2 separate regions of the Homo sapiens genome follow, and region 1 is linked to region 2. Evidence: promoter capture Hi-C in human tissues and cell types (Jung and others, 2019). All regions are on one chromosome and are shown on one strand. The core of a region is centred on a gene start or on the middle of the fragment in contact, and the rest is flanking DNA. Distances in the headings are between cores, read along the strand shown.

Region 1 (6,965 bases), core at 2,181-4,680, 360 kb after region 2:
TTTAATCACAGCACACAACAAGATGTACATTTATATCCTTGTGAGTAAGTGAATATGGTTGAGAGAAGAGGTTAGGTTGACAAAGCAACTACTAAAAAATTGTCTTTTTCCCTCTGTCTTATGGGTAACTTGGATGAAAACATAGAAGATGAGCTTATAATATATGATGATTAATAAAGTAGGGAGAGAGAGTCAGTTGGATAGAAGAGTTTCTATTTCAAAATCCCAGGTTGCCACAGTGGCTCACACCTGTAATCTCAGCATTTTAGGAGGCCGAGGCGGGCAGATCACTTGAGGTCAGGAGTTCAATACCAGCCTGGGCAACATAGCAAAACTCCATCTCTACAAAAAATACAAAGATTAGCCAGGTGTGGTAGTGTGTGCCTGTGATCCCTGCTAATTGGGAGGCTGAGGTGGGAGGATCGCTTGAGCCCGGGAGGTTGAGGCTGCAGTGAGCCAAGATTGTACCACTGCACTCCAGCCTGTACAACAGCATGACGCCCTGCCTCAAAAAATAAAAATAAAAAATAAAAAAATTAAGTCCCAGGTTGAATCACGAGGTCAAAACCAAAGAGGTAGAATGAAAGGTCCTGCTTTTGATCCACACACCTAAGATGGAAGAGCAGTTTATTAGCAGTTAATATGAAAAAGTTCTGGGGATTTAATAGAAAAGAATTTAAACAGTATCATACTCATAAACTACAAATGTGCCCTAAGTACAAATGCAGGTTGAATTGAAATCCAATTGCTTAAAAACTAAGGAGGTTGGGCATGGTGGTTCATGCCTATAATCCCAGCCCATTAAGAGGCCAAGGCAGGTGGATCACTTGAGCCCAGGAGTTTGAGACCAGCCTGGGCAACATGGCGAAACTGCGTCTCTATAAAAAATACAAAAATTAGCTGGGCGTGATGGCGCACACTTGTAGTCCCGATACTAGGGAGGCTTAGGTAGGAGGATCACCTGAGCCCAAGGAGATCAAAGCTGCAATGGGCCATGACCTCACCACTGCACTCCAGCCTAGGCAACAAAGTGAGACCCTGTCTCAAAACAAAACAAAAACACTAAGGAGAACTTCAGCAGTGTTGACAGGACACTGTTCAGAACTGGGAACAAATAGTCCTATGGAACCTACTATGTCTAGGCCAGCCTACCTCTAGAATATTTTGTTCTATTCTGGGCCCGACTTGTTAATTGGGACATGAATAAATGAGAGTAGATCTAGAGGGAAGCACCCAAGATGGCAATCGGGCTTGAAGCCACCCCTAGACTAGGAATATTGGAAGAAGCTGGGCGCATTTCTCCTGGAGAAGAATTATCAAGGGAAGACATGAGAGCCAAGATCAATGGGTGCAAGTTACATTGAAGAAGAATTTGGCCCAGAAATGGAAAGAATTCACTAACAACTAGAGCTGTTCATCAAAGGTTAACCTCCTGGTTCCTGGATATATCTACATAGCCTGGAGCTACCATTTTTCAGGATACTCTGGAAAGTATTCTTCCCTTAGGTGATGAATTACAAATCTTCTTACTCTAAGATCCCATAATTCTTCAAACTAGACACTTAACTCCTATGAGCCTCAGTTTCCTGAGAAGACTAAAATGAAATGGCTTGTAAATCCCCTTCCAGCTCTAACTTTCTATGAAGTACTTGGTCCTAAAGGGTACCCTCGTTTATGTTTCACAGAGATACCAGAAACAGGAGTCTTTTATCTTCAACTTGACTCTCAAGATGTTATCCTCAAGTGAACTTTTTTCTACCAGCTGAAATATGTCCTTAAAATCTTTGAGTCAATGAATCATGAAATGAGCCAGGTTTTCAAATCTCATTTGTAGGGTTCCTTAAGAACTATGTCCACTTGCCACATTCTTTTCTGAATATTATTCTTTTTTTCTTCAACCCTGTTTTTTAACCCAAACATCCTGTTTTCAAACATCCTGTTTTCAACCCTCTTTGTATCTAAGGATGGAACAAGGCTGATGACACAGACAAGAAACTTGTAAAACATAGCAAGTATCTGCCTTTTATTTGGTGAATAATGTCAGGACTAGAGAAGGGCTGATGTGAAATTCTGGGCTGGGCTTTAAGGCTTTAAGGCATAGTTTTGCCTCAAAGAATTGCCTCCACACAGGACAAGTCACTGTAAGCAAAGTATGTGGCTGCATCTGGACATGACAGGAGGTGAGCTGGGAAGTCCCTGCCCTTTCCCTGCACATGCACTTACCCCATTTCTCCATCTTTCTACCTCAACACTTCACCTTCAGAGATAATTTCTTTCAGGCCTCAAAGCATTTTTAGACTTTAAGTTCTTTTGTTGCTGTTTATTAGCTCAACCAGGGCCATGTACCAGAACCTGGGGGAAAGGGCCATTTCTATGGAAATGGAGATAGGGTCCAGGCCTATCCTGAGAAAGTGCAATCATGAGGAGACCATCCTGTTCTTTCTCATGTATTTTATCATTCATTTGGTACTAAGCACTGTACTAGGCACCAAGATAGATAGTAAAACATCAGCCTTGTCTTCAAAGGGTTTGCAGATCACAGAAGCCCTCTCTCTCTCTCATCTTTTACATAGATGATATCCTATATAACAAGAAGAGATGTCACAGGATGACTAAAACAGGCAAAGCAGCTGGAATATGTGTGTGGCTGGGGCAGCCCATGACAGGGCCTTAACCCTAGTAATGACGCTGACAGCTTTAGTCACTGAGGGGAGTGGCCAGAACCTGCTGGTTTGGTCAATGGGGGACAACAATCAAGTAAGGGAAAAGTGATCTTATAAGGACTGGAGGGAAGTCAACAGAAAATCTCAGCCAAGTGCCATACATTTTTTTCTATAGAGTTCTATATTTTCTGGAACTCATATACAGAATTAAGTAAGAGTCACCCTGGGCTATATTGGTAAGGGCAAAGAGCTGGAATTTCTTACAACTTTATTTTGAAGCCTCAAGCAGCGGAAGGCAGATGGAAGAAGTAACATGTGGTGGTGGTTCTCAGAATTTTTACCACCCCCAAAACATGGAAGATAATTCCTCACTCTCCGGTCAGTAACAACCACTGACTTCTGCAAAGATTCACAGCCATTTGGGGTACATATCAGAATATCATGGAGAAGCAGGAAGTGGGGAGCAATTTCATAAAGCTTCCTACTTGAGTCTAATATAACCCTTTCCTACCTGCCCTGAGATCTATAGGTAGCTTGCCTGAGTTGAATCCAGCTCTGCCATTAACCAGCTGCATGACTACAGACAAGTCGTTCTCTTTGAACCTTAGTTTCCTCATACATAAAATAACGAACCTTACCTGGCAGTGTTATTGAGAGGAACTACAGAACCTATCACAGTTAGTATATAGCAATATAGCCAGATCTTTTTTTTTTTGTTTTTGAGACAGAGTCTCACTGTGTTGCCCAGGCTGGAGTGTAGTGGCACGCTCTTGGCTCACTGCAACCTCTACCTTGCAGGCTCAAGCGATTTTCTTGCCTCAGCCTCCCAAGTAGCTGGGATAAAGACACCCACCACCAAGCCCAGCTAATTTTTGTATTTTTAGTAGATATGGGGTTTCACAGTGTTGGCCAGGCTGGTCTCAAACTCTTGACCTCAAGTGATCCGCCTGTCTCGTCCTCCCAAAGTGCTCGGATTATAGGCATGAGCCACTGCGCCTAGCCCATAAAGCTAGATCTTAATGAGCAATTAGCTACTAGTACAATAATTTGTTTTAAAAGCTATATTATAGGATAACAGAGTCTACTCAGTCAGCCTTTATGCAAAAGTGAAAATCTTGGGATTCTCAGAAATATGCTCTCAACAGTAAATGCCCTATGTAACAAGGTGCACCAGCTTAGGCTGGGGCCATTGGGCCCATAAAATCTTCATTGTTAAAGTTAAGAAGTTGGGTACAAGGACAGAGAAAAGCTACTATTCCCAAGTTGCCAAATTAAAAAAATTACCTATCTGGAAGGTAAATTTTTTTTACCCCTTAACAGATCTTTAAGTGTATAATAGAAGGGAGATTCAAAATTTACATTTGAAACTGATTGTTTGAGGGGAAAAAATCTAAATAAAAATTTTAACAATCATATAAATATAAAGCCAAGATCTTAATCTGGAATGGGAAGGTTAAGACCATTCATTAATTCAACAAATATTTACTGAGCAGCCCTGAGACTGTTTTCCTTGGGGTCTGGGAAGGGGAGCCATGGTCAATGGACTCTTGTTATCTGTAGGAATATTGATCCCTACCACAAGGTAGAGGGACAGGGAATAAAGGGGAGATAGTCCTCCTATGAGATAAAGGTAGGGGATGTTCTACAGGGCCCAGTTTTATATTTTTCTTTTCTGCCTTGTTATTTCTTCTCATGATTTTCTTTCAGTAAAATCTCTTTCCCACATCTCTTTCAGTAAAATTTTGTTAAATGATAGTCTTGTTCTCTGTTTTGGGGAATTACAAGATGGACTCTTAATGGGGCTCTATTAGTAGATGGTAAGAATTCCTGGGAATTTCCAGAAATTCTTTGGGAAAAGTCAGAGACTAATCTTCTCACAGTTACATAAGGGGATGAAGCTGAAAGTTATTTGGGCATTAATTAGAAGTGTGGCCCACTGAAGGCTGGTGAAATCTGGACACCTCTGCTATACATGGTCCTTGTGGATGGTTTGAATGATATTCCCAAATTGGCTGGGCACATTCCCATGATATCAGGCCGATGGGCATTAAAAATGCAAATTAGTTCACATGCTGGGGTACAATGCCCTGAACCAGCTGACTTTAATGGACTGCAGATTGCCAATCCAAGGCTATGTTCTTTCATTCCTTTCCTTGCCTTACTTACTTATCATTCATCCTTCCCCTAAGTTCTCTTGGGCCTATTGCCCAAATAAAAGTGAAGAAGAAATTAACACATATGAAAGCGTGCTATGCTAAGTACCATGTGGGGTGTGTTTTGCATGAATTATTTTACTTAACCCCTTACAACACCTTGGCAAGATAGGCAGGATTATCCCCATTTTATTGATGAGAAATGAAAGCTGAGAGTCCTATCTCCCAAGTAACACAGCCAGGTATTATAACAGTCCTGGGGTCCACATACAGGCTTACATAACTCCAAAGTTCTTTACATCATACCACCAAGAAAAATGTATTTTAAGATTCACCTAATTAAAACATAATTAAGAAGAACAATGTATTGGGAGAGATGCTTACTGTTTCTAAGCAAACATACGTGATTGCCTATCAATGAACAATGACCTCAAGCTGTAACTCAAACCGGAGCTGCAGGGGGCTCAGATTCAAACACTTCCTCTCCACTTACAAAACTGCCACAAAGGAAAATGAAATGGTAAAAGGCAGTTTCTGCCAAATCTTGGCAAAACCAGCTAAACTTTCTTGGTCAGTGGGAGTAGAAGGGGTGATATCTCTCTGTCCTGAGGAATCAAAAAGTTGCCTACCAGGTTAATACATAATACAAATCTGACATTTCAAACACAAGTTGTTTTACATATCTGGGCTCAACAGTTTAAGTTTACAAAATATCCCCACCCATCCAAAATCATGTGTCCATATAAAGGCACATCTGTGGTCTACAGTTGGATAATTCACAGCCCTCTTATCTAGCACTGGTCATTAGAAATTAGGGCGGCTGTGTTACACAACCATGCAGATGGTGCCCCCTAGTGTTGCACAATGACAAAGCCCTGAAAGCAACCACCTGAAAGCACAATCTAGACGGGTGCTTCTCAAACGGACTGTGGTAAAAAATTGTTGTTACTTTGTTTTTTTCAACCTCCAATCCTTCACAGACCAATACTTTTAAAAGCTATAATAAAAATAATTTAGCAGAAAAATTAAATAAGTAAAGGTATTACAAATAGAAGACTTAATCTTTTTAACCATTAGATTCAATAGACTTAAAATTATTCTGTGAAATTGCTCTAAAGTTTCTACACTCAGTTCCTTTGCAGACCAGGAACAACAGTTTGTGGATGGGCACGAATGCACAGATCACGCTTTGACAAACACTATACTGCTTCACTTTTTTTCTTTCTTTTTTTTTTTTTTGAGACAAAGTCTCACTCTGTCGCCCAGGCTGGAGTGCAGTGGCGCGATCTTGGCTCATTGCAACCTCCGCCTCCCGGGTTCAAGCCATTCTCCTGCCTCAGCCTCCCAAGTAGCTGGAATTACAGGTTTGTGCCACCACTCCCAGCTAAATTTGTATATTTAGTAGAGACGGGGTTTCACCATGTTAGTCAGGCTGATCTCAAACTCCTGACTTCAGGTGATCCGCCCGCCTCGGCCTCCCAAAGTGCTGGGATTACAAGCATGAGCCACCACACCTGGCCCATTGCTTCACTTTCAGTTACAAAGACTTACCATGGGTTCCTTCTAAGGTACATTGAACCACTTGACCCTCAATGTGGTGTCCACCTATCAATTAACTACAAATTCTTTCTTTCCTCTTTTTTTTTTTTTTTTTTTAACTCAAGCAACCCACAGGCCGGTTTAAAGTGGTCTTTAATTACTGAAGACTTTCCCTTATTTAAAGAAATAGGGGAAACTTGGAGGTCTAGATTAGATTTCTTTCCAACGGTTGCTATGTAACTTTGTGACATTTGAAAGATTAAAGTTGCTTCTGACGGCACTACAGTAGAACCTCAATATTTGCATGTTTCTTCCTTAAATTTCCCCTTTCCCTGACACTGTACATACACTTTCTAAAATTTGTTTTTTAATTTTTACTTTTCACTTTTCAATTTTTAAGGAAATAGAGATGGGGTTTCACCATGTTGCCCAGGCTGGTCTCAAACTCCTGGGCTCAAGCGATCCACTCGCCCCAGCCTCCCAAAGTGCCTGGCCCCTGTAGGTACACTGTTAACAGAATCAGATACCAGTAGGAAAATGGTAAAAAGAGAATATGTAAGCAGAGATACCAATTTGTGGTAAGCATTCAAATTGGTTCTTATGTAGTCCT
Region 2 (6,982 bases), core at 3,285-5,784:
AGCCTCTGCACAGCAAAAGAAACTATCATCAGAGTGAACAGACAACCTACTAAATGGGAGAAAACTTTTGCAATCTGTCCATCTGACAAAGGTCTAGTATCCAGAATCTACAAGGAACTTAAACAAATGTACTAGAAAAAAACAAACAACCCCATTAAAGAGTGAGCAAAGGACATGAACAGACACTTCTCAAAAGAAGACATTCATGGGGCCACAAAACAATTGGAAAAAAGCTCTACATCACTAATCATTAGATAAATGCAAATCAAAATTACAATGAGATACAATCTCATGCCAGTCAGAATGGCAATTTACTACAAAGTCAAGAAACAACAGATGCTGGCAAGGTTGCAGATAAATAGGAATGCTTTTACACTTTGGTGGGAATGTAAATTAGTTGAACCATTAAGGAAGGTGGTGTGGCAATTCCTCAAAGATCTAGAACCAGAAACACTATTTTACCCAGAAATTCCATTAGTGGATATACACCCAAAGGAATATAAATCATTCTATTACAAAGATACATGCACGCTTATGTTCACTGCAGTACTATTCACAATAGCAGAGGCATGGAATCAACTGAAATGCCCATCAATGATAGACTGGATATAGAAAATGTGGTACATATACCATGGAATACTATGCATAAAAGGGAATGAGATCATGTCCTTTGCAGGGACATGGATGGAGTTGGAAACCGTTCTCCTCAGCAAACTAACACAGGAACAGAAAACCAAACACTGCATTTTCTCACTTATAAGTGGGAGCTGAATGATGAGAACACATGGACACATGGTGGGGAACAACACACTCTGGGCAACTGTGGGGGTGGTGGGGCAAGGGAGAGCATCTGGAAGAATGACTAATGGATGCTGGGCTTAACACCTGGGTGATGAGATGATCTGCGCAGTAAACCACCATGGCACACATTTACCTATGTAATGAACCTGCACATCCTGCACATGTACCCCTGAACTTAAAGTTGAAAAAAAAAGGAATAGGAAATAAATAATAAAATGTGATTTAAAAACCCTTTTCACAAACTACAACACACATAGTATACAAAAGTTGATCATAAAGGTATACAATTTTGTGCATGAACATGTGTTACCAATATGTTCTCCCTGAAACTGTTGAATTCTTCTGCTCTTTTCTTGCCTTTTTTGGTGTGTGTGTGTGTGTGTGTGTGTGTGTGTGTGTGTGTGTGTGTGTGTGGCCTCCAGCTCCAGACTCTAGAGACAGTAATTGTAGTTTCAAATTAAGTATTCAGATAACTGGTAACAATTAATCAATCACCCATGGGAGTTCAAAGAAAGAAATTCATGGAAAGATACAATGTGATTTCTCCCAAGTATAAAAAAAACCTCCATGGGTGCTCTCCCAAGACTTAACAGTCAACCCTATAGGATGCCTGTGTTTCTCATCCTTCTCAGGATCAATGGAGGGCAGATGTAAGTACATACCTTTGAAGAAAGTTCCTTGTAAACTTCAAACATTGTTATACAAGCCTAAAGTGATGTTATTGGAATTTTAATAGTGTTCACAGGACCTGGTTTAAACATCACTAGTCGTCTTTCTCTAATGAACAACTGATCCATCCACTCATCAAAATACTATGGATAGATACACAAGACAATATAGAAATCAATACAATATATTTTAATGTTTGGAAGAAAAAATACAAATAAATACGGAGTAAGTTAGGAGAAATATTAAATGTGGGAGTTGAGTCAGGCTGGTGGGAAAAATTTAAAGATAGTTATAAGAAAAAGATGCAAACCTTCTTGGAAGGCTGGAGGTGTTGCATAAGCTCCAGTAATAGATCAGGCTGGAGGCAGCCTAATCCTTACCTTGAGTTAATAGCTTAGGGCACAGATACAAAGGAATGTATAGTAGTTTATCTAAATAGCTTGTTTACACATGTGGTCTTAAGACCAACCTTTGATCAACCGCAGGTGCATAATTGCTCTCTACTCGGGAGGGTGGCAATGTCTACACTCTATTGGGCTCATATCTTAGATCCACTTTTCTTTTGCCCTGTCACTTGGGTATACAACCCCTTCCCAGCCTTTAATAACGTGACTGCTTAGCTAGGAGGGATAGATTTACCCCCAGTGGGGTTCCTCAATAATGGCACACATTGGACTAAGGTGCCAGATAACACTACAGATCACTCTACTATCCTCCCATTGTGTGTAAATTATAAATGTTCTAACCCTTAGTGTGCACCTACTGAAACACAATTATGGCTACATCATGGCAAAAGAAGTGCCTTAACAGTCTTAGCTGCAGGTAGCCTCAAAACGGAAATCAAGTCTGCTTTCCCAAACATTCCTTCCTGTGCTAAAGAACAAAGCCGGAAAAATAACGGATTCCACTTTAGCTGGGAGATCTGTCATGGGGAATAAGCTCATAGCCTCCAGTTAGGCAATTATAACATCCTAGACTGGAGCCCCTGTGGCCATTTGTAGGGCAGCCTTACTGATATCCTCATCCATCATGGCATCGATCACAGTTTCATAGCCTCGTCCCATTCCCTTATGATTTGGGCCGATGGGAGGATAGGATATCCCAGACCCCGAGTAAAGTTGATGCCTCCCCAAGACACTTTATGTTGCCTGGGACATCTTAGCACCTCCCTTGACACCTGGCATGGGACATATCATAATTACAGTAACAACTATACTATAACCTTTATTCATAATCACACTGATCAGTCCCTAATTTGCAACTCCATCCATATGTTTTCCTTATGGGAACTAATATTTCTATTACAACCCAAAATTCCATGTTTGTGACCCGGGTGCAAGGACAGGCTTTGTTTGCCTCATGTACCACTAATTACAATATATCTAATTTAAATACTACTAGTGTCATGGTATTAAGGAGACAATCTGAGGCATTCCTACCCGTCAATTTGACACACTATTGGCAAGGTTCCTCTTCCTTTGCCACCTTAGAATGTGCCCTATCCCAGGTCAGACCCAAAAGATTTATAGGCACACTTATAACCTTTATAGTCTCAGCCATAGTCATCCTAGCAACTGCTAGTGTGGCTATAGCATCTACTACCGAATCAGTGCAAACAGCTGCTTTTGTAGACAATTTGGCCAGAAATGTGTCTAATGAACTTCTCTTACAGCAGGGTATAGATCAAGAGATTCTTGCACGTCTGCAAGCCCTCGAGGCTGCCTTGGAATTTGTGGGGGAGCGACAAGATGCCCTAGCATTCTGATAGCAATTAAACTGTGACTGGGAGCATAAACATATCTGTGTCACATTTTTACCTTGGAATCAATCAATACATAGTTGGGATGAGGTGAAACAACACCTCTGGGGAAACTTTCATGACAATTTAACAGCAGACGTAAAGCAACTTAAAACTAAAATTTTAGAATCCCTTCACATGATAGATCTACATACTCAACAAACAGCCATATGGAAAGGTGTGCAAGATCATTTCTCCTGGTTATACCCCCGATCCTGGGGGTCACACTTTGACTGGAAAGGAATGTTACTAATTATACTCATGATTGTCTTACGTTATTTGCTAATTCTATGATGCAAAGCCGGAATAAAAGCAAAACCTAACAAACCTGTTGCTGCACACATCTGTACTCTTAAGTCAACAGAACCCGATGCAAAGAACAGAAAGGGGGGAGATGTGAGAGTTCAGTCAGGCTGGTGGGAAAATTTTTTCAGATAGTTATAAGAAAAAGACGCAAACCTTTTTGAAACGCCGGAGGGGTTTGTATAAGCTCCAGTAATAGATCAGGCTGAAGGCAGCCTAATCCTTACCTTGAGTTAATAGCTTAAGGCACAGATACAAATGAATGTAGTTTATCTAGTTTGTTTACTCATGTGGTCCTAAGACTAATCTTTGATCAACCGCGGGTGCATAATTGCTCTCTACTCGGGAGGTTGGCAATGTCAATTACCTTCTAGTGGTGTTTACTCAAGACCTTCGTCATTTAATCTATGCTGAATAAATGTGAGCTTTGCTGGCTGATCGGGGCCACGGCTGCAACTCTTTACAGCACCCTCCTTGGTGTCTGTAGGTGGCCCGGACCCTCAGCTGGACTGACAGGCAAACTATCTGTGTCAGTGTATGTTATTCATCCGTCGTTGGGTCAGGGTCTGTGGGACAGACCCCCGCAATTAAAAGCTTATATGCCAAATGTTAACTAAGATAATTTCTAGCCAATGAGCTTACAGGTCAGTTCTATTTTTATTTCATCTAAGCAAAGGACATTAAAAATTACCATTATTTTAGTAAGCATAAAAATAGTATTACAGGAGGAAAGTTAAGAAAAAGAAGTAGAACAACCAAATTCAAAACAAGCAAAGTGCAGCAGCACATTGGGAGCAAAGAGGGATATGAGAGTGTGGGTAGGGCAAGTAGGGAGACTAAATAAGAACTGAGGGAGAAAGTTCCTTGTAGGTGGGTGGGAAAGGGGTGGAACTGACACCATTGACGCAAAAGCTGAGTAATAGCCCTAAGCAAATAAATGCCTGATGAAGGCATGCAGAAAGCAGTCTGGAGCCCAGAAGGGACACACCAGCACAGTCTGGTAGGCTACAGCAGCAAGTCTCTAAAGAAAGGCTGAGAACACCCAGAACAGGAGAGTTCAGGTCCAGGATGGCCAGCCTGTTCCGGTCCTATCTGCCAGCAATCTGGCTGCTGCTGAGCCAACTCCTTAGAGAAAGCCTAGCAGCAGAGCTGAGGGGATGTGGTCCCCGATTTGGAAAACACTTGCTGTCATATTGCCCCATGCCTGAGAAGACATTCACCACCACCCCAGGAGGGTGGCTGCTGGAATCTGGACGTCCCAAAGGTGAGAGCCCTGGACTACCAAACAATCAGAATGAGGCCTGAAAAAACAGGCTCCAGATCTCATTGACTGCCTGTAGTCAACTCAGACTCTACTGTGGCTAGTGCCTACAAGTTTGTGGTTTTTCATTGTAATGTGCTTTTATTAAAAGGGTCTCACCAGAAATCTCATGGGAAGTTGGGGGTAGAGGAGAAGCTGCAGGAAAAACAGAAGAACAGCCTCACCTTGGAGGCTCTTGGTGCCTTTCCCACCTGGCAGCCAGAGATACAGGGTGGAGAAAACAGGGAATCCTCAGAGAAGGTGACTATTCTCAAACACCAGCAGGAGGTGAGGTGTACTCCCAGACCCCCAGGAAAGCTGGGCAGGCCAGAAAACAGGTGTGATTGCAATGAGATGCCTGGGCCAGGCATCTTCAATTAAGAAGAAAGGGGACAAACAGTGAGGTGATGAGCTGATTATCATTTCTGTTTATGCACCTATTGGCCTAGGGGCAGCACACTGAGACCTCTGTTAGGTTCCTGGAATGTGAGATAAAGGGGGCTTAGATTTAATAACTCTCATCCTTTGTCATTAAGCTGGGCAGTGGTCTATGTCACCAAAAACGTCCTCTTACAAAAAAGTTTTTTTTAATGCACACCAACAGAGCACCTTGCCTCCCATTTCTTTGAATCTACTCTTGTAGTGTGTTGAGAGAGATGAGATGAAGAGAAAGAAAGTGGCCTGGATGACTAGAGGGGAAATTGAAGGGGACCAGAGACAAGGGAATTTCACTGTTCAGACCATCATAGCTGATTTGATTAGTGTTTTCAACATTTGAGACTGCAAAGCATTTTCTTTAAAAGCAAGATTTCAGAATTGAGGAAAGTTCAATACCAGGATAGTTTTCAAACTTTACCAAGTAACAAGGTATTCATAAAGATAAATTGCCAGCTAAGTTAAAACTAGCAGGGGCAGTTTCGAAAAGAGATAGAGGCTACTATATTCTGTCTAATAGGTCGTATTAAGTTCTGAAAAGCTAAGTTAAATTACTAAACATTGTTTTACATTTAATACAAATGACACAGGTTTTGAACCAGCAATGTGTGACTCCAGAACTGCTTCTTGTAACCCATATGCATACACTTCATTAAATCATTAAATGACTCTGTTTAAAGTTATCGTGCACAGTGAATGCACTTGGATTTTGTGTGATTTATATAACGATTTCAAAGTTATTTCCTTTTTTTACATTATTAGTCAGAGCTTGTTTCATTTTACTATAAAATAAGGGAAGAATACCACAAAGTCCAAACAATTTCTAATGCAAACTAAGGAAGAGCATGCTGTACTATAATTTCTATTTAAATTTCACTTTTTTTCAGTAAATAAGTGAAAATCCTCATTTAAATACTTTGACAAATATAGATAAATTTAACAAGAAAAATGGAAAGTATTCATGGATAACAAATGTTAACATTTGGTGTCGACACATATAGATGTATGTTGCTTCTCAGCCTTTTAGCTAAGATCCACTGATATAGATGTATAGATTTATGTGGATCAGATTTGAATATCTGAATCTTTCTATTAGAATAACTTGTGATTATAAAAAAAATTCCCTATTGCTATCCAGTACATAATGCATTGAGGTTATCAATCAAAACAGTGTCAGGGAGAGTCAAAAGTGGTATGGTATAGGCATTTAGAGGGTCATTAGAAGAGTGCATAGAGGGGACAGGATGAGGAGTTAGCATATCCTTAATATTGTAGTATCTTAAAGTGCCCTACTCTAAGTAAGCTAAGTTGTTGAAATGTTAGGATACTTGCTGATTCTCTCTGGTGTTTAATTACATGGAGGCAATGGGTACATTGTGGTCTAGGCAAATTGTATAATTTTTCTGATCCTCTTTCACATGAATGTTTTTCCTCACCTTTCATTCCTCTCTTTTACTTCACAGAAATGGTGTCAACCTCCAACAACAAAGATGGACAAGCCTTAGGTACGACATCAGAATTCATTCCTAATTTGTCACCAGAGCTGAAGAAACCACTGTCTGAAGGGCAGCCATCATTGAAGAAAATAATACTTTCCCGCAAAAAGAGAAGTGGACGTCACAGATTTGATCCATTCTGTTGTGAAGTAATTTGTGACGATGGAACTTCAGTTAAAT

The links. The method cuts DNA at HindIII sites, captures the fragments that hold promoters and counts their contacts. A contact is called where the count stands out against the background at its distance.
Region 1: a contact is called between a fragment that was not itself captured here and the fragment with the promoter of INSL4 in region 2, in 1 of the 25 tissues and cell types used here (small bowel).

What each region holds. Positions count from the first base shown.
Region 1 is chr9:5,584,550-5,591,514 of GRCh38, forward strand. All of the region lies in intron 1 of INCR1 (interferon stimulated noncoding RNA 1), which reads right to left. Among named protein-coding and RNA genes, the nearest start is that of RIC1, 41 kb to the right of the region's middle. RefSeq lists an enhancer at 5,354-5,543. The HindIII fragment of the contact is 5,555 bases long and covers 654-6,208 here.
Region 2 is chr9:5,226,885-5,233,866 of GRCh38, forward strand. It overlaps INSL4 (insulin like 4), which reads left to right and starts at 4,535. Exons shown (of 2, transcript NM_002195.2): 1 at 4,535-4,835; 2 at 6,770-6,982. The coding sequence starts at 4,640. RefSeq lists a promoter at 3,812-4,629. The HindIII fragment of the contact is 9,700 bases long and covers 1,634-6,982 here.